Regions from separate parts of the Homo sapiens genome. Here regions 2, 3, 4, 5 and 6 are each linked to region 1. Evidence: promoter capture Hi-C in human tissues and cell types (Jung and others, 2019). All regions are on one chromosome and are shown on one strand. The core of a region is centred on a gene start or on the middle of the fragment in contact, and the rest is flanking DNA. Distances in the headings are between cores, read along the strand shown. Region 1 holds the start of SALL1 (spalt like transcription factor 1). Region 2 has its middle 95 kb from the start of LINC02911. Region 3 has its middle 130 kb from the start of LINC02911. Region 4 has its middle 140 kb from the start of LINC01571. Region 5 has its middle 31 kb from the start of LINC01571. Region 6 overlaps LOC105371257 (a long non-coding RNA gene).

Region 1 (3,593 bases), core at 562-3,061:
GATTGTGTATCTGCACCCCCCTCCTCCCCCATTACTCAGCCGAAGTTTAGTTTAGTTTAGTCCTTCGGGCGCAAGACTTCGAGAACCTTGGAGCGAGGAGACCCCGAGGCGCGAGGGGAAAGAGCTAGGCTGAGCCGCGTACCGAGTCTCAGGTTCGCGGGCGCCTGAGCCCGGCAGAGGGATCGGGCTCCTGGCTCTGGGCTCTGGGGCGAGGGTAGGGAGGTTGCATCTCAGCTTGAGGGAGATGGTGATAGAGCGAAAAGTTCGGGCGCCGCGCTCGGCAAGTGCCCAAAAAGTGGAGGCGAGCTTCGGCGCCGCCAGGCAGCCTCGGACAGAACACCTCCCCACCGCCCTCCCCCCACCCCGCTTTCCGGCTCTGCGCCGCCACCTCGTCCCGGAAGGCTGGGGCGCGGCCCCCTCCCCAGGGCGGGGTGCCCAGGGGTCCCAGGGACTGGCCCAGTCCAGTGCCGGGTCCGCCCGGGCTGTGTCTCCCTAGGCCGGTGCTCGCTGCTGCGCTCAGTGTGAGCCGCAGCCCCTCCCCTCCCCCCGGCCGGAGCTGAACTCGGAGCCCAGGCCGGTCCCCGCTCTCCGCCCGCCCGGGGCTCTGCGGCGCCACCGCTGCCGCCGCCTCCCCGCGGAGTGACGCGCCCTGCAGCCAACCGGGGCAGCCGGGGGGGAGGTCCGGGAGGGGTCCTGGGCGGAGCCGGGCCGCCCCCTTATCCCACGGGCTCGGGGCTGCTTCTCCCGAAAACTTCAGCCCTAATTGTCCTGGGAATGTCCGAGGTAGAGAAAGGGAGCGAGGGAGCAAGCAAGAAGCTGGAGGATCAGTGCCCCTGGCGGGGAGGGGATGGGGTGGCGGGAGAACTGCCCCTCCCCCCAGCCACAAACCCATCAGGTTCCCAAACCTTTCCTGGATCCTCTTCTCCGCGCCCCCGCGAGCCCGGGATCCAGGGGATGGAGAACTCGGGGCGGAGGAGCGCCGAGCCAGGCGGGAGGGAGGCCGAGCCGTGGGCGGGAGGCGGACCGGCGTGGGGCTGGCTCTTCCCCACTCGCTTATTTTTTTTTTTAATGGGGGTGGGGGTGGGCTGCTTTCTGGTAGCTCTTAAAGAAACGAAGAAACACTCACGAAACGGGACGCCCTCCCCCCTGATCCCGCCGCGGGACTCCCTCCCCCCGCGGGCCGGCGCGCCTCGCCCCCGAGTTGGGAAGTTCGCAGCGCGCCGGCAGCCCGGGTCCCCAGCCCTCGCCGCCCGGCCCCACCCCCCACCCGGGGCGGCTCAATTCCGGGGAGGGCATGCTAATTTGGGTCGGCCCAGCCCGGGATTGTGGGGGGGGGCGAAGGAGGGAGGGAAGAGGGAGGGGAGAGGGAGAGAGCGGGGGGCGCCTGCCGGGGCGCCGGGCCCGCAGTGGAGAGGAGGCCGGCCCCCGGCGGCCGGGCCGCGGAGTCCCGGGCGGTCGCAAAGAGGGTTAACCCAGTGTCGGGCGGCGCGGCGCGCAGAGCCAGCCCCGCGGCCGGCTTATTGGGCCAGCGCGCGGAGAGACAGGGGTCTGCAGCAAATCACGAACTAATTGATTAAGGCGAGCGGGTTTGAATAGCGCTGGCCCGGTGCCAATCGCCTTTCAAAGAGCCCCTCTATGATTAATCGCAATGCATTATTGATAATCATAATTATAGCAGGACACATGCGCGCTGCGCCCGGGGCCGGGGAGCCGGGGAGGGGGCGGGCGGGCCGGCGGGCGGGGGGAGCCGCCGCCGCCGCCGCCGCTCGATTTCCGTAATTTTGAGAAGATTTTTTTTTAGTAATTTTTTATTCTGCCCCAGCTGATGTTTGAGCCAGCATGTCGCGGAGGAAGCAAGCGAAGCCTCAACATTTCCAATCCGACCCCGAAGTGGCCTCGCTCCCCCGGCGAGATGGTGAGTGCTCCGGCCCGCGCCGTGGACACACACACACGCACTCACACTCACGCACACTCGGACCCACTCACACGCGGCTGGCCCCCGCGCCCCCTACCTCACCGCCGCCGCGGCCCCGATTGCTTCTTCCACTCGGCGTAATTTTTTTTTTCTTTTTAATTTTCAATGTGCCTTTGCTGGGCTTTCCCCCGCTGCCCCGGGGAAAGCGAGCACATCTCCCGGCAGGATCTTTCCGGAGTTGTTGGGTCCTCCCGGGGGAAGGAGGGCGGGCATGCCGGCCTGGCTTCTCCGTCCCTGCTTTTCCGGGGATCCCAGCCGCGGCCAAGACCCGGGAGCCCCATGAGGCGTGGGTGCGGGTGGAGGTCGCCCCGGCCTGACCGCACGGGGCCCCTAGCGCTCCCGGCGCCGGCCCCAGGGCACCCGGCCCGGCCTCCGCCGCCCGGCCTTGCTGCCAGCGGTAAGGAAGTTTACTTCGGGCGCTGGGCTGAACTCCGAGCGTGGGGGAGTTCGCTGCGCCCCCCTGCCCCCACGCACACTCCCCCTCGGCCTGCGAGGCAGAACCGGGTGTCTTTGGAGGTTCAGAGCTGCAAGAAGATGGGGACTGGTGTCGGGGCGCCAGCGCCTGACCCGCTGGGGTTGCGGCCGGGGTGGAGAGTGCTGCTGGCCGCCAGTTGTTCCGGAGACGGTGCAAACGGACGGGGAAAGTGTCGGGGTCTGGCTCGCAAAATTTATCTCCGCATCTCTTCCCACAACACTTGCACCCTCTGCCCCCCAAAATCTTTCTGGTCGGTATGCGCCCTCTGCGGATCGTGGTGCTCCCTACTTCCAGGGGGGTCAGGGAAGAAGTCATAGAATAGTTTTCCAGGTTTGCGGGTGGCCAGCCAGAGTGGAATCCCCCCTGAAACAGGGGCACTTGTTTTCTCCGATGGAGGCGACAACTGTGGGTCCCGAAGGGGCTGAACAAGTCCAGAACAAAGTTTGTGTGTGGGGGCTATGGCAGAGAGTGGAAGAGATCCGGGCAGGGAGTTGGGGTACAAAGGGAGGACACCTGGAATCCCTCCTTGCTCCTAAAGGTGTTTCACGGTACCGGCCTCAAAGCTCCCAGGCCTAGCGCCCGAGGCGGTGTAGCGGCGCCCGGACTCGGGTCCCCGGGTCGTCCCGGCACGATGCTGGCCTCTCGGCTGTGGGAGGACGCACAAGGAGCAATCTCGGCGGGGTCTCAGCGGCTCCGGATGCCACTCGGGATGCCCACGCCCTAGGCGGCATTTTGGGGTGTGAAGGAGGGAGCTGGGCCCCGACAGAGCTCCGAAGCGTGACCCTGATCGGCACCTCAGCCCACTAAGCTGCGGCCGCCCGGGCCCCCAGGTCCCCGGCTCGTTTCCCAGAGGCCTGCCTCTCGGTAGAGCTGGGGCACAGTGAAGCGAAGGGACCCCCGCTCCCTTTACCCCTGATGTCGGGAAAGGGGAATCCTGACTTGGGGTCCCTGTAAAAAAATGGAGGACTTGAAATTAATTAAGAAATGCTTTACAATAGCCCTCCTCCCGGCCCCCAGTGTTTCCTCAAGCTTGAATCCTTACCCACGGCCTCTGCGATTTCTCAGTCCGCTGAAAAGAGCCCCTGAACCCCGCTTTCCACCCCAAGCGAAAGCGAGCACGCGGGGTAGATGGAGGTGAGATGA
Region 2 (3,593 bases), core at 524-3,023, 830 kb before region 1:
GTCAGTCTACTCATGGGGTTATCTTCAGTGCAAAGGGAAGAAGCTCAACAAATATTGACCGAATTAATGAATGAGGTGTGTTTGATGCTGGTGGGTCTTTGAGGAATGGCCTTGCCTTTTGCCACATAAATGCAGTTTTTAGGTGGGTGGGGTGTATGGTGGGTGTGCTGGCAATGGAAACCTCACATCAGTGAGGAGATCCAAGAGCAAAAATATCATGCTTCTTCTCAAGTAGAGACTGGGGGTGGGGACAAAACTTCCAGGGTGTACACAACCACGTGCCATGCCTGGGTCAACAGGGCAGCTCATGGTGGGGAAGCAGTGGAAGTTTCCTAGGCACTGGGGGCATGCTGGGTTTAATTCAGGAGCTGATGGGGTTGGCAGGCCTCAAGACTGTTGACGGAGCGCCTGACAGGGATGAGGAAATCTCACGGGTGCCACCTTGAAGAAATGATGACACTGGGGACTAGGGCTGCACCTGTCTCTCTGGTGCTTTCCTACTACATTGGTCCCTCTACTCAAATCCAGATAAAGTGGGAAGACAGACCAACACTGAATCAACTGAAAGTAAGCTTCCATCACTCAGTGAGATGGGAGTCTAAATAGAAACTGAGTTTTTAAAGAAAGTTACATTTCTCACACATCAGTATTTATGAATCGAAATTTCTATTTCTCACATGAACAGTTCCTCGTGGCTGTATTTGCACCACTTGCAAACCACTCATGGATTCCAAGAGTGATGCAGTTATGGGAATAAACTGGAATCCACTCTAATTTATTCCTAAAAGTAATTGTTCCATAAGGTTCCATAATTCAGTTCTTATTTGTCAGGTTACTTGTTAATGTCCATTGCAACATTATGAAAATGTGTTTCACACATGCTGCGAACATAGAAGTAAAAAATAAATTTTGAAGGCACCTGTTGTAATGTTGTAACAGGGAAATACCTGAACTATGAATCACAGGACACGGGTTCTGGTGACAGCTATGCCACCTATTAGTTGTGGGTGCTAGGCAAGTCCCTTCCCCTCTTTGGGCGTCTGTCTTCTCATCAGATGACGGAAGGAAATGAAATGACTCATCAATTGCACGTCATTGTGATAACTGCATACCTGCTGTACTGTTATATATGTAGTGATTTTTCTTTAATTCAACTAAGAATTTGAATATTTCAGTTATGTTGCTTGAAATCATCCAGCAGTAGGATGACTGAACTTTAAATGTCCCTTCTCCCCCTGACACTCTGGCCTGTGCACTGTGATTCTAGAATTGAGAGACTGAGCCATTCCCAAACATCCCGTGAGCAGACAGTCTATTGAGCCCATCACATGAACATAGGGGTTGCCCCCCGTCTTTTTTTTCCAAGGCATGGCTGTAGCTGCAGGTGATTCTTAGATAAATAACTAGAAAATATTTGACAGCCTCACCTCCGTTAAATGTTCTTCCAAGGGATTTCAATTGAGTCTCCAGTTTTCAGGTCATTTAAAGTTTGCTACTTCTAAAGTGCCTCTTACCATCAAGGTGTGATGCAAAGAGTTTTCCATTCGATGCTTCCATTGAAATAAATAAATTGAAATGAAGGCGAGGATTTGTCAGGTTTCCACTAGAGGGCAGCAGAGTAGTGAGAATCAGGGTTCTCAGAGGCTTTGTAGTAGAAGTGTTGACATGTGACTTGGCAATTGAATAATTTTTGATACTGTCCTGACACATAAACACCTAGAAGCAGGTTTTCAAAGGTTATTTGCACACTAAAAGAGGAATTAAGGAAACGAACTTGCATGCCAAAAGTAATTTTCAATATTCTACAAAGAACCGTAGCTTCATTATAAGATTGTTTTTAGAGAATATTCAGCTATCGTTAACTGGATATGTTAAACTTAACTGGCAAACACGCATTCAAAATAAATTAGGCTGAGTGGACCTAAGAAAGTAGATCCAGTGACTAATAAAAAATTTCTGCTGGGATTTGGAGTCTGGCCAACTCACCCAAAAGGAGAAATTGGGCTTTAAGTGATTTTTCTAGATCTTCCAGCCCTGGGGGCTCCTAGGCTTGTGATATTAGCATGGTTAAACAGTTGTGCACATACTGCACGGTTTTGTGTGTGTGTGTGTGTGTGTGTGTGTGTGTGTTATTGTGGTCATTTATTTTTAAGGTATTACTCTACCTTCAGCATAAAAAGTCAGCAAATTATCAGAGTTTATTCCATTGACATTCTCACATCTTGAGAAATAGCCCATTTGTATTATCACAGTTTGATATATTTCCCATTTACTGAGCTTCCTTGGCAAGTTGGCATTTTAATTTAATTATACTTTTTGCTAATGGTCTTTATTTTTCAGTGTCTGTGTGTAAAACGCCCGTAGGTTTGATTATCTGCCCCCCTCCTCTTCCCAGTGCCGAGCTATAGTGCAAATTTATAAACTGACAAAATTCAGTGTAAAATTCAGGAAGGTGAAATTAAGGAATTTGTAAAGAAATCCTGCTTAAATGCTGAAGCCTTTTCCTCACTTGCAGAAGACGGCTCCCTCTTGCATAAGTTTAGTACCTGGCCTTGGTGTCTCCAATAGGAACCCAGAACAGAGGCATGTGGCCTGTGTCCTTGTCCCTCTCTGTGCTGGCTCAGACTCTGTCCCCCTCTGTGCCAGATAAGAGAGAGTTTCTGTGCCAGATCAGAGAGGTTGTCCCTCTGAGCTGACAGAGAGAGGGACAAGGCACAGAGAGGAACGTGGACCTCTAAGAGTTTGAACTCTTCTGAGGGTATCCTCTGAGCACCAAGGGATATAGCAACAATGATAATCGCAGGGTTTTCTTGGCTTATTGATGATGCTGGGAGCTTATGGAGGCTTCTCCCTTTAGAATAGAAACTGATCGTGTAGGGCTGTAGCTTTCCTTGAAGACTGTAGGCTGGCTAGTGGAGTCTGGACCATGGGCCCTACCAGGACCCTAGGGCTGTGTTGGTGTGCATTTAGTAGTAAAAAGGAGCTAATGAGTGGAAATACCCAGACAAGCAAGTACACACATCCATGCTCATATTTCCCACAAGTGTGCACACTCTGTTTCCTTGATCCTAAGATGCTGCTGACTGTAACACACACCATTGATCCAATAATAGCCCTCCAAGGGGAAAAAAAAAGAAGAAGAAGAAGAAGAAGAAAGAATCACTGCCAGATTAAACTTACACATCAATTGTAGGGTACATCCCAGTTTCAGAAATGCCAAAAAGTGGAAAACAAAGGCTGATTTCAAAATCTTGGAAATTTAGCATATCTAATTTTGATAGATGTATTTAAGGTAAAGCTGCCTCCCAAAATTTGTCCTGAAGAAAAATTCAGGATTTGAAACCTATGCAACCACAGTCAAGTTGCTAATCATGATCCATAAATGGGCTAGCAAAGTGTGAGAATAGTCTTTGTCTGTGGAAGTGCTCTGCAACTGTAAAGTTCTGGGCAAATGTTGGCTTTTGGTATTTTATTTCACTGGGTCTGTGTTATCTATTTGTTTTTGTTTTACTCATTTTTTTTACACAGGACCCCTCTCCCCAGGACCCAACCTGTCCTTATGACCCCCTTAACCCTTCATCTGTCTCATCAGC
Region 3 (3,593 bases), core at 517-3,016, 800 kb before region 1:
GGCTGAGGCGGGTGGATCTCTTGAGGTCAGGAGTTTGAAACCAGCCTGGCAAACGTGGTGAAACCCCATCTCTACTAAAAATACAAAAATATTAGCCAGGCGTAGTGGCGGGCACCTGTAATCCCTGCTACTTGGGAGGCTGAGTCAGGAGAATTGCTTGAACCCAGGAGGCGAAGGTTGCAGTGAGCCAAGATTGCACCACTCATTCTGTCTCAAAAAAAAGAAAAAGAAAAAAGAAAAGAACAAATGAAACCATTGCATCATTCTAACCTCAAATTCCTCATCTGCAAAATAGAGGCTATGAGGATTAGAGAAATGATGCTGCCTGCTACAAAGCTTTGAAGAACAAGTGGACATCCTATATAGGTTTGCTGATGCTAATCAAAGCACTCAGAATTATGTTGAAAGGATAAAATTTCTCATTATAGCTATGCAAATTTTGCCTATTTATTGCTTTTCTTTTCTTTTCTTTTTTTTTTTTTTTTTTTTTTTGCTTTTTACTGAACAACCACAAAAAACAACAATGGCAAGATGTCACATATGAAGGATCTAGAAAGTTTTCCAAATGATAGAGGGATGAAGTGAGAGAAGATGAGATTTCAGAATATTCTTTTTGCTACTGTGTTTGTGGGGATCCAAGCCTTTGGAGCTGAGAAAGAATGCTGTGATGATCTGTGAAATGGCTAGGGAACTCAGAGGCATTTAGCTACTTTCACCAAAGTCACAGAGAAAGCAAGTGGCGGAGCGGAGCTGCAAAGAGGAGGAGAGGCTCTGGTTTCCAACCAGGCTCACACCTCTGTCTCCTGCCTGGAGCTGGGGTGAGCCCAGCCTCTCTGAGCCAAAGGTTGGCCTGTGAGTTGCACGCCTGCAGCTGGAACTGGCAGACCAACTATGGCATGATTGATGCTCCCTCTGCTTTTGTCATTTATTTGCCTTGTTTTTTTTCCTTCCCCCAACAGAGCTGATAAGGAAGGTTTTGCCAGAGAATCATGTATCGCTTCTTTTTTTTTTTCTATTGACCAGTGAAATGCAGTTCTCATTACTCCAGCCACTTTCCAAGGGTAAGCAGTTTTGCATTATTTAGCACCTAAATTGGGCCTTGAAAGAGACTCGGCAGGGGCCTCTTAATGTTGGGGTGCTATTCTCTACTCTCTTGGTCCCAGCAGATAAACCGTCTCTTCAGGTGTCAAGTCTACGTGATCTGATAGTTTTGCTTTGTTTTGCTCAGGATCCTGACATGGAGTACCAGAATTTGGAAGTTGAAATTTCATTTCCAGAAACCTCACTTTTCAGGCAGTGTGATATGGTCAAATGATAGAATGACCACTGGTAGGGGACAGATAGGATGTGAATCCAGGTTCTGCATATAGTCTACTGGGTGGATTTTAGTAAGTTACTTCACTTTCTCTGGGCTTCTCTTTCCACATCTGTAAAGCTGAGATCCAGGCGGGTGCTGGAGTAACACCAGTGAGGTTTCTGCAGTGTCACATTTAGAGAAGCACGCATGCATGACCCTGAAAGTGAGTGCCCCTTAAACACTGTATCCTGCAAGGCCCCCTGCCTCCCAGTAGTCTGTGCCCTGGTTGAGATGGTTAAGGTAACAACTAACCCTTATTAGGCATTTACTGTACACCTGTCATTACCTCAAGAGCTTTGCACAACAGCCCTGTAAGGCAGATATTATTATTGATCCCATTTTGATAAATGAAAAAACCGAACTAGAGGTGGTTATCCACCTAAGATTACAGAGTTTGCAAGTAGTTAAAGCCAAGATTTTTACTCAGTAGCTTGACACATAGTAGATGCTTAAATACATGCTTGAGGGATGTTTCATGCTGTGGTTGTTATTAAGGTGAACATTCAGCAGCCATGCTCCTCCCCTGAAACAACCAGAATTTTGCTTGGGACCTCAAGTGGCGTCTGACCACTTCAACCAGTCTTGGAGATGACAGATACATTTACAGTGCTGCCGAATAGAGTCATATTAAGTTATCCATCTCTGCCAACTGCTATTCATTGTGAGACCTGCTCCATAATGAAACATTATGGATTGCTTCTTTTGGCTAGAGAATAACTTAACCTCTGACTCGAGATGGAGGTATGTTTTCCATGAAAAGGTGGTTAACAGCCTCCTCCACTCAGCAGAAATACCCACCAAGGATGTGTGAAGTGCCAAAAGACGTATTACATCCTCAAGGTCTGTGAAAGCAAATTCCTCTCAATATATTATGTATTTAATTCCCCATCTGGGTTTCCAGGAATTAAGGCTGTTATTGTACAGTCTAATTTTAAATCTGGAGCTTTATTATTCAAAAGAAATGTCTTTTTTCCCCCTTCTCATGCTCTTTTCCCTCCATCTTGTTCTGTGTGCATTCTGTAGTGAGTTAATTGAGCTTTCCCCACAGGGATTCCATTGCAACTCCAGGACTTGAATATCCTGATAGTCGATGAAGCTGAAAAAAGAGAGATTTTGCAGCCATGACTATATTCAAATGGAAGCTTTTCCTTTCCATGGAGAAGTATAATATGTCTAAGTGAGGTGGTTTTATATTAACTTTGAGTGGATGGAATCAGAGAATGAGATAACACACTGTCTTGTGTCTGTCACCGTCATATCTCTGGCTGCCAGGGTACCTGTCAAGCGCTGGGCCTGGGCAGAGAGTCTGGCCCAAGAGCCCATTCCTGCTTGTCTCATCCCCTTCCTCCTCCTTGTCTGTCTTTCATCCAGCACATGGTTGAAGTCACCCCATATTAGCTGGACATTAACATGGAAAAGCCTAGGCTATGGCACCTTTACACACTAACTCTTTCCTGCCTTCCTAGGTAACTGTGGGGTGTGTTTTGGAGAGAAGAGTAGCTGAAATTAAGTGCTTCCTTCCCCTTCTGTTTACTTCTTTGGAAGTGTATTTCTGCATACTGATTGGAGCTGTCTTTACTTTTTTTCTGTCTTTAAAATAGGAACGTTAATATCTGAAAGTGGTTTGTAAGCTATGAGGTACATGCAAAACAAATAAAAATTTAGAATTATTTTTAAAACAGTCTAAAAGTGTATTGATATAGCACCTAACAAACCTTTGGGGCTTATGCACTCCAAACCCAGCTCTGCCTCCTCTTAGCTGAGTGATTTCCTGTCAATATCTTGGTCCCTTAGATTCTCAGTTTCCTCATCTGTAAAATGAGAATATCTATTTATCTCAAAGATAGTTACGAATGTTTAATGAGGCCATCTACTTAAAGCCCTTTTTGCAGAGTTAGCCAGTTAACTCTTAATGTTGTTAGCAATGCTGATGAAGGGGTTGGGTGTTATTTTTATGCTGTTATGATTATCATTTCTCTCCAAGAGGAATTCCCTCCCTTACCCTGGCCATGCCAGAGTGGAAGGTAACTCCCCTTGTTTCTCCTGCCTTTCATCAGCACCGGGAGCTGGTTACTTGAACTGTAGACTAATGCACATGTGGCCTCTAGTGAATGTCAGGCAGAGAGTGAGAGTGGAAAATTCCAGGTCTGGCTGCTGCTTGGGTGGCTGACCCTATTAACCATTAGCAGTTTATCTTGAATCTGATTCTGATTACATCCAATTTGTTCTTTTGCTC
Region 4 (3,593 bases), core at 281-2,780, 750 kb before region 1:
TGTTTTAGGGAATTAGTGAATTTGAGTGAATATCAGACTCTCCTATTAGAAATCATTGATATTGTTGGATTTTATTATTTTCTTTTCTGTATTATTCTGATCTCTCAGATGCAAGTAACAAAAACTTGACAAACAAATGTAAACAAATATGGAGATTTTTGTTCACATAACTGAAAAGTTTAGGTTATCTGGCTTCAGAGAAGGATATATCCCAGTGTTCACATGACGCCATTAGGATTCAATATCTCTTGCCCCATCTCTTGGTTCTGCTTTCCCATGTACTGGCTTCATTCTCAGGCTGAACCCCTTAAAATGCTGGTCCTCTCAAAGCTCCAAGCTTACATCAGCCTTATAGCTCATACTTTCCATTTCAACAAAAGCCCAGGATGTAGTATCATTGGCCTGTCTTGAGTAACATGACCATCCATCTCTGAATGAGGACCATAACTAGACTGATAAATACAGTTACCTGCTCTAGAAACTCAACCTGCTAAAAGATGTGTTTGACATCATAGATTATACAGAGGTTTGTAAATCTGATTTAGATCATTGCATGACACCCCAGAAAGAAAATCTTTTTGATAGATATTATAAAATGAAACTCTCCTTGGTCATAACCCACCATCACTTTGCTGGTCTAGACTAGATTGCTTCCTTTCACAGCTATAGGATTGGCTTCTATAAACTTTTCTCCTCCTCCGGAAACTAGTGAGGGGTGCTTGTAGAGTCTTAGTGATCACAGATAACAAGACAAGAATAAGGGGAAGAGACAGGTGACTGGAAGATGAGGCATTCCCAATTGCTACATCATTGTGTATTCAGAAATCTTTAAACCTTATAGTGTAGAGGTTTATAATACAGGCTGAGAAATAAGACAGACTAGTATTTGTGTGCCAACTTTATTTTCTAAGATAAACCAGTTAACCAAATCAATAAAATGAAGATACTAGTATCTGCCCCATTAATAATAGCTACTCCAAGTAGGTGTGCCTAACTGTTGGCCAGAGTAGCTATCACTGTCACCCAACCCACCTAGTATTCTACCTTCATGGCCAGCACCCTCTCTCTTTTCCATGAGTCATAGGTTTCTCAAAATGAAGAGGTTCCTCTTTCTAACTTCTAGACTTTATTCTCACAGCACTCCCCAGTCTGATTAAATAAATTCTCAGGCAACCCATGTTCAAATCCTTCCTCTTTCACTTATTAGTTGGGTGACCTTGAGCAAGATGATCACTCTAAGCCTCAATCTTCTCATCTGTAAAATGGGGTTATTCACAGTAACCTCTCAAGAAGGTAGTGTAGCTTAAATTAGGTCGTATCTTTAAATTATTTAGAACACAATAGATGTCAAATAAATTTTATTCGTATTTATCAATTGCTTGCAAACTATGTGCTAGTTCTTGTTTTAAGCACTTTGAGAGTTTTAATTTATTTAATCCTATTATTTAAGATTTACCCTATCATTATGTTTATCTTAAAGACCAAAAAAGAAAGCTTCGAGAGGTTACCTGAGGTTACACTGCTGGTACATGGTAGGAGTGAGATTTAAATCCATTAATTTACTCACTCCATTATCTCCTCCCCTACCTACCTCTTACTGTAAAAAGATGAACTTATAGTCAGAACTGAATGGAGAATGTGATACCATGCCCTATCTCCTTGTGAGGCTTAAGTCCATTCTACTACTCATCAGTATATTTGCCCAGGGAGGTATTTAATTATGGACAAAGGCAACATTTAGTCTAAGAAGTCCCTATTATCTTTCATGCCTTGCTGCAAGCAGTAAAGATGCAGATACCACCATCTCACTGAAGCTTTATGGCTTCTCAGTGAGGAAGGCAACATGGAACCCCCAGTGTTACTTAGCCAGAATGTGGAAAACCCTATGATTTGAATCCAGGACTCTCTGTCCTCAAAGAGTTTGCTTTTTATGACCATGCCATACCATCGTGGAATGCAACGAAGAATGCTGAGAATACAGAGTAAATGTTTTCAGTGTCTCTGTGATATATGTTTTGTGAACCCATGTCAAATTCTTAGCTAAGTGAATACCTCTACTTATTTTTTTCTAACTCACATTGATTGAGCATTTACCATGATCCAGGCAGAAGCTGTATGAACCTTGGGCAAGAGATCACTTTTGACCTCTCCTGCCTGACTTTTGGACATTACCTAGGTTATTTCAGCTTGCTGTAACTCCTACCAGCCTTGCTGTGATGGGATACATTGGTTTGACTTTAGGATATGTTGTTAAAGTCATCAATTATCCCTGTTGGAAAACCTAAGGTTCATGTATCAAGTTTCCATGAAAAAAGAATTGAAGAGTAAAAAGCAATAAAAGGGGTAAAAGCATTGTGGGCTTACTTTCCTCATGGTGGTCATTTTGTTGGAATCATAAGCCTTATTGCAAAATGGATGAGAAAGGTGATGACTAATATCTTAGTTTATTCAGACTACTATAACAAAATATTGTAAACAGTAATTTTTTAAGCCACACAAGTTCATTTCTCATAGTTCTAGAGGCTGGGAAATCCAAGATCAAGGTGCAGCATATCTGGTGTCTGGTGAAGGCTCGCTTCTGCTTCCAAGATGATGCCTTGTTTCTGTGTTCTCACATGGCAGCAGATGGAAGGGCAAAAATTATGAATGCTATGTGAAGCCTCATTTATAAGGCCATGAAACCCATTTACAAAGGAGAATTCCTTATGATCTAATCAACTGCAAACATCCCTACCTCTTAATCCTATTGCATTTGGGATTAAGTTTCCACATGACTTGTGGAGAGACACAAACATTGAAAACATAACAGTTAGCTTAACCAGGTAGTTTAACACATGGTCCTCATCCTCTTACACTTTAGGTAACTTATTAGGCTTGAAAAAAAGTCAATGTTTCCATGAATTTGAAAATTAACCTAGCTCGTACTGGATTAAAAAATTACAAATTAGACCCAGTTAGAAGATAAATATTGTGCCAATCAAATTTGACCAACATTAATGAGTTATGTCTGTCAATGCAACAATTGCAAAATGCTTTTTCCCCCCTACTCTTTTTTTTCTGATATTTATTTGTATTTTTTAGTCTACTTGGACAACAGCATGTAAATTTGGGGAAAAGAGTCAATTAAAGCTTGCCAGCACAAATGCTTACAATTTACTAACTTCCCCCATGACCCTGCGTAGCATTATTCTAAAGTTTCTCTCTGTTGCAATTTGGGCTCTATTGTCTCTGAAATGACCCCCCTGGCTGAGAAGACCATCAAGAATATGCAGCATCTCAACCATCTCCCGCCCAGAGACGAGCCTGATTAATCCCGATTGAGTCTATGGAAAGCACACAAATATAAACTATTCATTTATTTCAAATCGGTGGGTGCCGTGGGGGAAGTTATCACATATAATCTAGTGTTAGTCTATCCACTGCATCATAAAAATTAATTTGTCTAATTAATGACATTAGTACTTTTATACATGCATAATTCATATTAATTGATAGGTCTGCCTAAAAAGAATACCTTTTGGAAGAAAAATGATCCCATTAGCACAAGTTTAATCCAAATCAGGGCTGACAAAGCATGGAGCCTTCAAGGCATA
Region 5 (3,593 bases), core at 610-3,109, 640 kb before region 1:
AGGAGAGGGAACTGAATTTAGAAGTGGACTCCACATGGCAGGATCCAAGAACCAATCAGATTGAGCCTTGTCAACACCCCACAGCAGGGTCCAATCAGATCACACCTCTGACTGTAAAACCTGTTTCAAACCCCAACTCCAGGAGACAGATTTGAGTTCAATTCCTGTCTCCTTGTTTTGGTCACCTGACAATAGACTTTTCTCCCTGCAAAGACCTGGTTCTTTGGTGTCTGGCTTTCTGTTGCTCGCAGGCAACTGAACAAATTTTGGTTCAGTTACAGAACCACAACCACAGTCTTTGAGTGCTTTTCCTAAACCAGCGTGGATTGCAAGTCTTTCCTGAACTGTTAGCCGGTGTGCTCAGGTCCCAGCACAGCCTCAGATCAGGGGTTAGGGGTGGCACTGGCCTGGCCTTAGCACATGGGCTTTGATAAAATGTACAAGGTGAGGGGTGTTTCCTAAAGAAATTCTAGGCAAGAATCATACGTCTACCATTCAGAGGCTTTGGAAGTTTATAACACAGATTATTTTGCATTCTTATGATAACTTAGGACTCTCATCGCTAGCTTAATGATACTTCCTAAATCTCCATTTTGCTAGGGAGGGCTTTTCTCCTTGGTGGTTTTTCATGACAAGAAACCACACTCTCTGGACGATATTCTTCCCCAGTGCTCATCTTGGCAGCTCCTTTTGGGGCTTTGAGCTCTTCTAGGGACCAAGGGCACAAGAACTCCTATTGACAGAGCCCCAGAAGCCACACGATAAAGTCTGATTCAGAGGTTCATAGCTTCTCTGGTTCTGGAATTAATTCACATGTTGCTTGTTTTATGCAGCCTTACCTATTGTGCCCAGTGTCACGAACTGTACTGAAAACTCTTAACACCTTTTAAAACTCGATTCACTTTTGATGCCATAAGAAAGATTGGGCCAATAAATAAGAACTAGAATCCATTTGTGGTCCATTTTGCTAAAGTATATTAAATATCACCTGCAATTTGAACTTGCCTTATAAAATGTTTACATGCCATTAAATAGTCCTAACATCCTTTGTGTAAATTAAGCAGGCTGTGATGTTCCTTATTCCAAGGAGTAGCAGTACTTAAAGCTGTAAACTACTTTCATGCAATAAATCCAATACTTTGCTCCTAAAAGCAGGATTATAAATATAAAAGGCAACAATACTGACCTCAGTGTCTGCACTTGAATTGCTTTGGGAAAACTGGTATAGAAAGAAATATTCTAATTTGGACTCTCAGTCCATTTGTTGATTGTGTTTTGGGCATGTGGGTTCCTGGAAAATATTGTTGTCTACAGATCAGCTTTGTAAAACATACAACTATTCTTTATTAAAAGGACAGGTTCACAAAAATCTATTCAGTCTGCAACTAGCATCTTAAGCAGCAATTTTGAGTGCACCTAAGTAGGTCTCCTCGGTTGGAAGAATTCCATAAAGAGCTTCCTGGTTGAGAAGCACTCAGAAGTCCTGCCTGCACCCCGTGTGCCTTCCACACTGTTGCTTTTTATAAAGCCTCTTCCTTCTCCCTCAGCTGGGCCATCAATGGGCTGTTTTCTTGCAAGTGCTCGAAATTTAATGGAGCTTAAGTGAGACACAGACCATTAACGCAGTATCAATATTTATTTTTGGTTCCCATGGAAACAGATACCAGCCCATGGGTAACTTCTCTTCCAATCTGAACAACAGGATCTTTTGCATGAACTAATATTCTATTTAGTTTCTTGAGGGGAAGGCAGTGGCTTTGAGGTTAATAAACCGTAATTTATTTAATAAACAAAACCACATAGAAGAGGAACTGCTTAACAGGGCCAGACCTAGTGTGTGTGTGTGTGTGTGTGTGTGTGTGTGTGTGTGTGTGCGCGCGCGCGCGCGCCCTAGGAAGGGCAGTTCAGTTTGTGCACCTTGCAAGCCTCGCTCTGCCCTCCCCATCCGGTCATCCTTTAACCTTGTTGCCAGGCACAAGCTTCCCAATATCATCTCGCTCCACAGGCCCTATTTTCTAACCCGTTAATCAGGTTTGAGGCTCCCTGGAAGATCGTGCCCTGCGTGCTAATTGCATTTGGCTTTGTGACAATGTGAAGGACTTTGTAGATGGCTAGGGAGCAAAAGTCATCATATCTTGGCTTGGCTTAATCTCGCAAAGCTACGGTATCAACCGTCCAGTTGTTTTGTGCAGGCCTCTGCCCTCTTCCCAGTGACAATGTAAGCTATTCCTCTTCCTTAGGGAACTGGCCCTAGTACCAAAGGAGTTTGGCAAAATAAAAGGAGCCATCAGGAGATGTGAATTGCGGTCTTGACTCAGAAATTAATTTGCCTGTAACCATGATCAATCCACATATTCTTCCTTCATCTCTAAATATGTATCTTACAAAATAATTGAAGGATTAAATTATATTGTCTCAACAATGCCTTCAAATAATAAAATGTGCAAACATGCTTCTAAGTAATAATCTTGCCATGTAACCCCCTGTCACTTAGCAGCATGAACCTCTTCTGTGGCTTTCCATCATCCTCCATGGAATTGTCTATCCATCTTCCCTTTCATTTTTAATGTCTTCCCTGGTCTCTACTAATTATCTATTAGTCAGGTTTCTTCTTTCTTTCAATGAACTTTTTCTTCTTCACTGAGCTGAATCTTCCTCCAAAGGCTCTCTCCTCTCTCTCCTACATCAACTATTTTGTTCATTCCAAATGATTAGATCTCATGTAACTCCAAATACTCAAATTCCATATTCCAGCTGCCATATTCTTTCAAGTTATATTAGTTTCCTATTGCTGCATATAAATGGCTACAAATTTAACAGCTTGAAACAATACTCATTTATTAGTTCACAGTTCTGGAGGTCAGAAGTCTGGCATGGCATGGCTGAGTTCTCTGCTCAAAGTAAGAGAAGACTAAAATCAAGATATTGGCCAAGTTAAGTCCTCATCCACTGGCTCCAGAGAGAAATCCAGTTACAAACTTATTGACGTTGTTGCAAAAATTCATTTCTTTTGGTTGTAGAACTGAGGTCCCACTTTTCTGGCTTCTAGAGGCTGCCTACGATCTTTCTCATGTGGCCCCTCCATCTTCAAAGTCAACATTGATACACTGAGTCTTTTTTAGGCTTCAGATCTTTCCCCTAGTCCTTCTTCCACCAACTGGAGAAAAATTTCTGCCTTTAAAGGGCTCACCTGACTGGACACAGCCCACCTGGATAACTTTCCCCACCTCAAGGTCAGCTGACTTGGAACTTTAATGACATGTGCAAGATTCCTTCACAGCAGTTTCTAGATTGGTGTCAGATTAAATAGTCATGAAATTGGGATTTGGGTGGAGGGAGTATCTTTAGAATTTTGCTCACCACACAAGTTATAAGTAAGATAGAAGCTGTGGCCAGGTGCGTTGGCTTACACCTGCAATCTCAGCACTTTGGAAGGCTGAGGTGGGAGAATTGCTTGAGAACAGTAGTTCAAGACCAACCTGGGCAACATAGTGAGACCCTGTCTCTGCAAAAAAATTTAAAAACTAGTCTTGTGTGGTGCCATGTGCCTGTGGTTCCAACTACTGGGGAGGGTAAGGCAAGAAGATTGCTTG
Region 6 (3,593 bases), core at 511-3,010, 600 kb before region 1:
TGCAACAATATATACAGGGCTCATTTTCCCCTTCTTCTAGCTCTGGATAATATCAATCTTTAACTTTTGCCAACTTTAAGGAAAAAATGGTATTATTTTATTTGTGTTTTTTCAATTAGTAATGAATAATAGATCACCTTTGTATAAGTTTATTAGCCACTCATATTTCACTTTCATAGCATTTCCTGTTCACATAATTTGCAAATGTCGATTTTCGAATCATTTCTCATTTTCTTTTTAATTTGTAGAACTTTCATTAATACTAACGCCTTAGTGATTAAATACATTATATCTTGGTCTTTCGTTTGAGTTTTAATTTTGTTTACAAGGTCCTACACAAGTTTTTTTTTTTAATCTTTTAAGTTTTAATGTTGTCAAATCAGAATATGGATTTTATGATGAAGAAAGGAAATTCGGAAGGAAAAGTGACTTGCTCAAATTTATTCTGCCTTTAATTGGGAAAAGATTTGAACCGAGTTGTGTTTTTTTAACCCTATACCATTTCTCTGTGGATGTTATCATGGCCTTAGTTATACATATGTGCCTGAAAAGTGAGTGTGGTTATAAATTTCCGTTTTAATTACTGGGCTTCTTGGCCTCCCTTCAGTTATCTCCAACTCCTCTTCCCACTCCCCTTAAAGGAAGTTTTCTGCCCATCTTTCAAAACTCAGCTCATATCACACATGTATAAAACTTTCCCAGATATTCTCAAGTCAGCCTTTTCCTGTTCCGTTATTATATGGTGGTGGTATGAGCCTTTGGGCAGCATCTATCAAAGTCTCTTTTGTGAGGCAGGTTTTTATGTCACGGCTCCCTCCTGCCCTAGAGAGTGAACTTGCATGAGTTAAGAGCCTGTGGTAGATTAATTGCAGTCATCAGCAGAACTCCTACTGTAACCATGTCCTGGTAATGTATTCTTCACATCAAGAAGTGGATACTCTTTCTCCGGCCCTTGAATCTGGAATGGCTTTGTCACTTGCTTTGGCAGAAGAAAGGACCTTGCCTTCACATTCCGCTCTCGGTACTCTCTTGGTCCCTACCATGGACACCATGGAAGAAGCCCATATTTGCCTGTTGAAGAATGAGAGACCATGTGGAGGAGAATTGTCCCAGGGGAGGCCATCCTAGACAAGGCAATTCCCAACTGATCTATCAAGTAACAGCAGACGCATGAGCAATGGCAGCTAAAATCTGCTGAGCCTATCCCAGACCAAAAGAAACTGTCAATCATCCTATGCATTTATGAGCTAAGTAAATGTTTATTGTTTCAGCCACAATTGGGTGCTTTGTTACACAGCAATAGATGACTGGTAATAAGCCTTTCTGCGGCAAATTAAGCATGGTCTCATTGAGCACAAGTAAGAACTAGTTCCAATGTCTTATTCATTTTTCAATCCTTGAAACATAGCCTAGCACATTACATTGGACGTAGTAGCTGTACATAGCTGTTAAATTCAATCTCTTCCTTTAACTGCAATGGATAATCTGAATACTTGCCGGGATGCTTTTGGTAGGAACATCCTATTTTCTCAAAGCCAGTCAGACTCTGGCCACATTCATAATAAGGAAATTTGGAATAAGCAAAAAACATCATTGAGTGTCTCCAATAGGAAATTATTCACTGTTTAGAAGACACCTGTCTGGGTAATCTGATCCTGGCCTTGCATTGACTTTGAGCTGTGTTACAGCTCCGTAAGTTGTGGAGAACTGATGGCAATGCAATTGATTTTTGTCTACGAGCATGCAAACGAATTCTATCCAGTGGAGAAACAACATTCCTTCACCCACACTCCCCACCCACCATCACACTAGCATCATCACTACCACGGAAAAGCCAGTTTTGCATCTGTTTGCAAATTCATTTCAATATTCCTGATCCATAAATGTGACTGTTTGAATTCTCCTTTGACCCTGTTATAGCATCTACCTTGTTCCTTCATCTAATAGCATGTTATATAAAATCGTTGACGTATGTTCATTTTTTATGTGTATGAGTGTTGTAATTATACCTTTGTTTGAAAATTATATTTTGACAGTTTGCAAGATACTTCCAGATGTCCAGTGGATTCACCTGTCAGAGCTGATTAACGTTCACTGTCAAAGGGTGAACTTCATGACAGCTTAAGCCCACGCATGTCATTGCTTAGCTCTCAGTCTGAATCAGATGAATCTGAATTGGCACAAATACTTTGCTGATTCTCCTCTTTTCTGATTTTAATTTTCTTCTTTGCTTTATTCTTTGTTTTTGCTTTTACTGTGTCTATGGCTAATAAGTTATTTTCCATGGGTGGAAATAATGACTTGGGAATTTAGTTTTGTGGTCAGAGCATTTGGTGATCTCTGGATGTAGATTAATGGTCGGTTGAGATCCAGTCTCCATTAGGTGAGAGATGACAGAATCTGGCTTGCTAGTCATTATCCTTTGTCTGTTTGTTTATTTTTAGTTCAAATCAAATAAGACTTTTTTGCCTACCAGGAAGGGGAACAGCTCCTTGATAGTCAGACTGGTGAGCTTTTGTGTTCTGGATTTTCTCTTGATCTTTGGCTGAAATTATAGAATAGAAGCTTCAAGTTTTCTACGTGTCTCCCTGTCTACACGTCATGTCTGCAATTCAGACAAGACTTTACTCTAAGTGCATATGTAATGTTTCCATATTTCCCAAGAATATTAATAAATTATATTGTAAGGTGTCTTAAATGAAAGGAATTCTGTTCTAATTGGTTTATAAAGCTAAATATGTATATGTGCAGATTAAATGTTCCTAAAATTCCCAAATGTAAGAAAATTAAATTTCTAATACTTTAAATTTCTGATACTATTGTATACTTACAAGAAAAATATCCTTACAGAAATAACTCAGAAATACTTTAGTAACTGAATTTCATATAATTAAGGCAAATCTTTGGCAAACAAGACTAGTTTAATAATTTTTGTTTATTAAAAACCACTGTATCTTCTCTTTTCTTCCATGTCAATTATAATACAAGCAAATATTTTTATTATGCTTGGGTATATTTTCCTAAACTTATACATTCTATTATGTTTAAATTATGAAAAATGTAAATATAACTTTATGTTTAACTAAATTGAATCATTTTATTCTCACAAACTACTTATTTCAACAGTAATTATATTCAGTAGTGTGTCAGCTTGAAGATAAATTCCCACATCTTTAGGTAACTAAAAATCTGAGAATGATGTTAAATGGAGTTAATTAACGGATAACCATTCTATAGTAGGTTATTTCTAACTAAGGTACACTACACTAAAAAGCATTGACTACTAAACATATTTTCAAGGTTGTCTGTTTTTGCTTTCCTTTTTGTTTTTATACACTACAGAGATGCTATATATTTGGACCAGGTTAATGAAGAAGTTTATATTTGTCACTTAGGGAAGCTGTATAAAGAATATGAGTGGCTGTTGAATGTCAGTGTGTGACAGACGTTTTTCAATTATTCATTCTTCAGTTTTCTTCCTGAAAGGGAAGTTAGTTACCTTGATTAAAGTATTAATTAGTATAAATATTTGAGACTATATTAAGAGAAAGAGTAAAAGAGAAATATAACTGTACATGCTTCTGCTTTTCAAG

The links. Contacts are between HindIII fragments. The study calls those that stand out against the background at their distance.
Region 2: a fragment that was not itself captured here is called in contact with the fragment with the promoter of SALL1 in region 1 in 1 of the 25 tissues and cell types used here (dorsolateral prefrontal cortex).
Region 3: a contact is called between a fragment that was not itself captured here and the fragment with the promoter of SALL1 in region 1, in 2 of the 25 tissues and cell types used here (dorsolateral prefrontal cortex and mesendoderm cells).
Region 4: a contact is called between a fragment that was not itself captured here and the fragment with the promoter of SALL1 in region 1, in 3 of the 25 tissues and cell types used here (IMR-90 fibroblasts, lymphoblastoid cells and mesenchymal stem cells).
Region 5: a contact is called between a fragment that was not itself captured here and the fragment with the promoter of SALL1 in region 1, in 2 of the 25 tissues and cell types used here (lymphoblastoid cells and mesenchymal stem cells).
Region 6: a fragment that was not itself captured here is called in contact with the fragment with the promoter of SALL1 in region 1 in 2 of the 25 tissues and cell types used here (IMR-90 fibroblasts and dorsolateral prefrontal cortex).

The regions. Positions count from the first base shown.
Region 1 is chr16:51,149,488-51,153,080 of GRCh38, reverse strand. SALL1 (spalt like transcription factor 1) reads left to right here and starts at 1,811. Exons shown (of 3, transcript NM_002968.3): 1 at 1,811-1,915. The coding sequence starts at 1,840. RefSeq lists an enhancer at 2,114-2,614. The HindIII fragment of the contact is 9,229 bases long and covers 1-3,593 here.
Region 2 is chr16:51,980,935-51,984,527 of GRCh38, reverse strand. No RefSeq gene overlaps it. Among named protein-coding and RNA genes, the nearest start is that of LINC02911, 95 kb to the left of the region's middle. The HindIII fragment of the contact is 5,917 bases long and covers 1-3,593 here.
Region 3 is chr16:51,949,374-51,952,966 of GRCh38, reverse strand. No RefSeq gene overlaps it. Among named protein-coding and RNA genes, the nearest start is that of LINC02911, 130 kb to the left of the region's middle. The HindIII fragment of the contact is 3,631 bases long and covers 1-3,581 here.
Region 4 is chr16:51,901,103-51,904,695 of GRCh38, reverse strand. No RefSeq gene overlaps it. Among named protein-coding and RNA genes, the nearest start is that of LINC01571, 140 kb to the right of the region's middle. The HindIII fragment of the contact is 4,381 bases long and covers 1-3,593 here.
Region 5 is chr16:51,791,234-51,794,826 of GRCh38, reverse strand. No RefSeq gene overlaps it. Among named protein-coding and RNA genes, the nearest start is that of LINC01571, 31 kb to the right of the region's middle. The HindIII fragment of the contact is 3,548 bases long and covers 86-3,593 here.
Region 6 is chr16:51,746,001-51,749,593 of GRCh38, reverse strand. All of the region lies in intron 3 of LOC105371257 (a long non-coding RNA gene), which reads left to right. Among named protein-coding and RNA genes, the nearest start is that of LINC01571, 15 kb to the left of the region's middle. The HindIII fragment of the contact is 4,003 bases long and covers 1-3,593 here.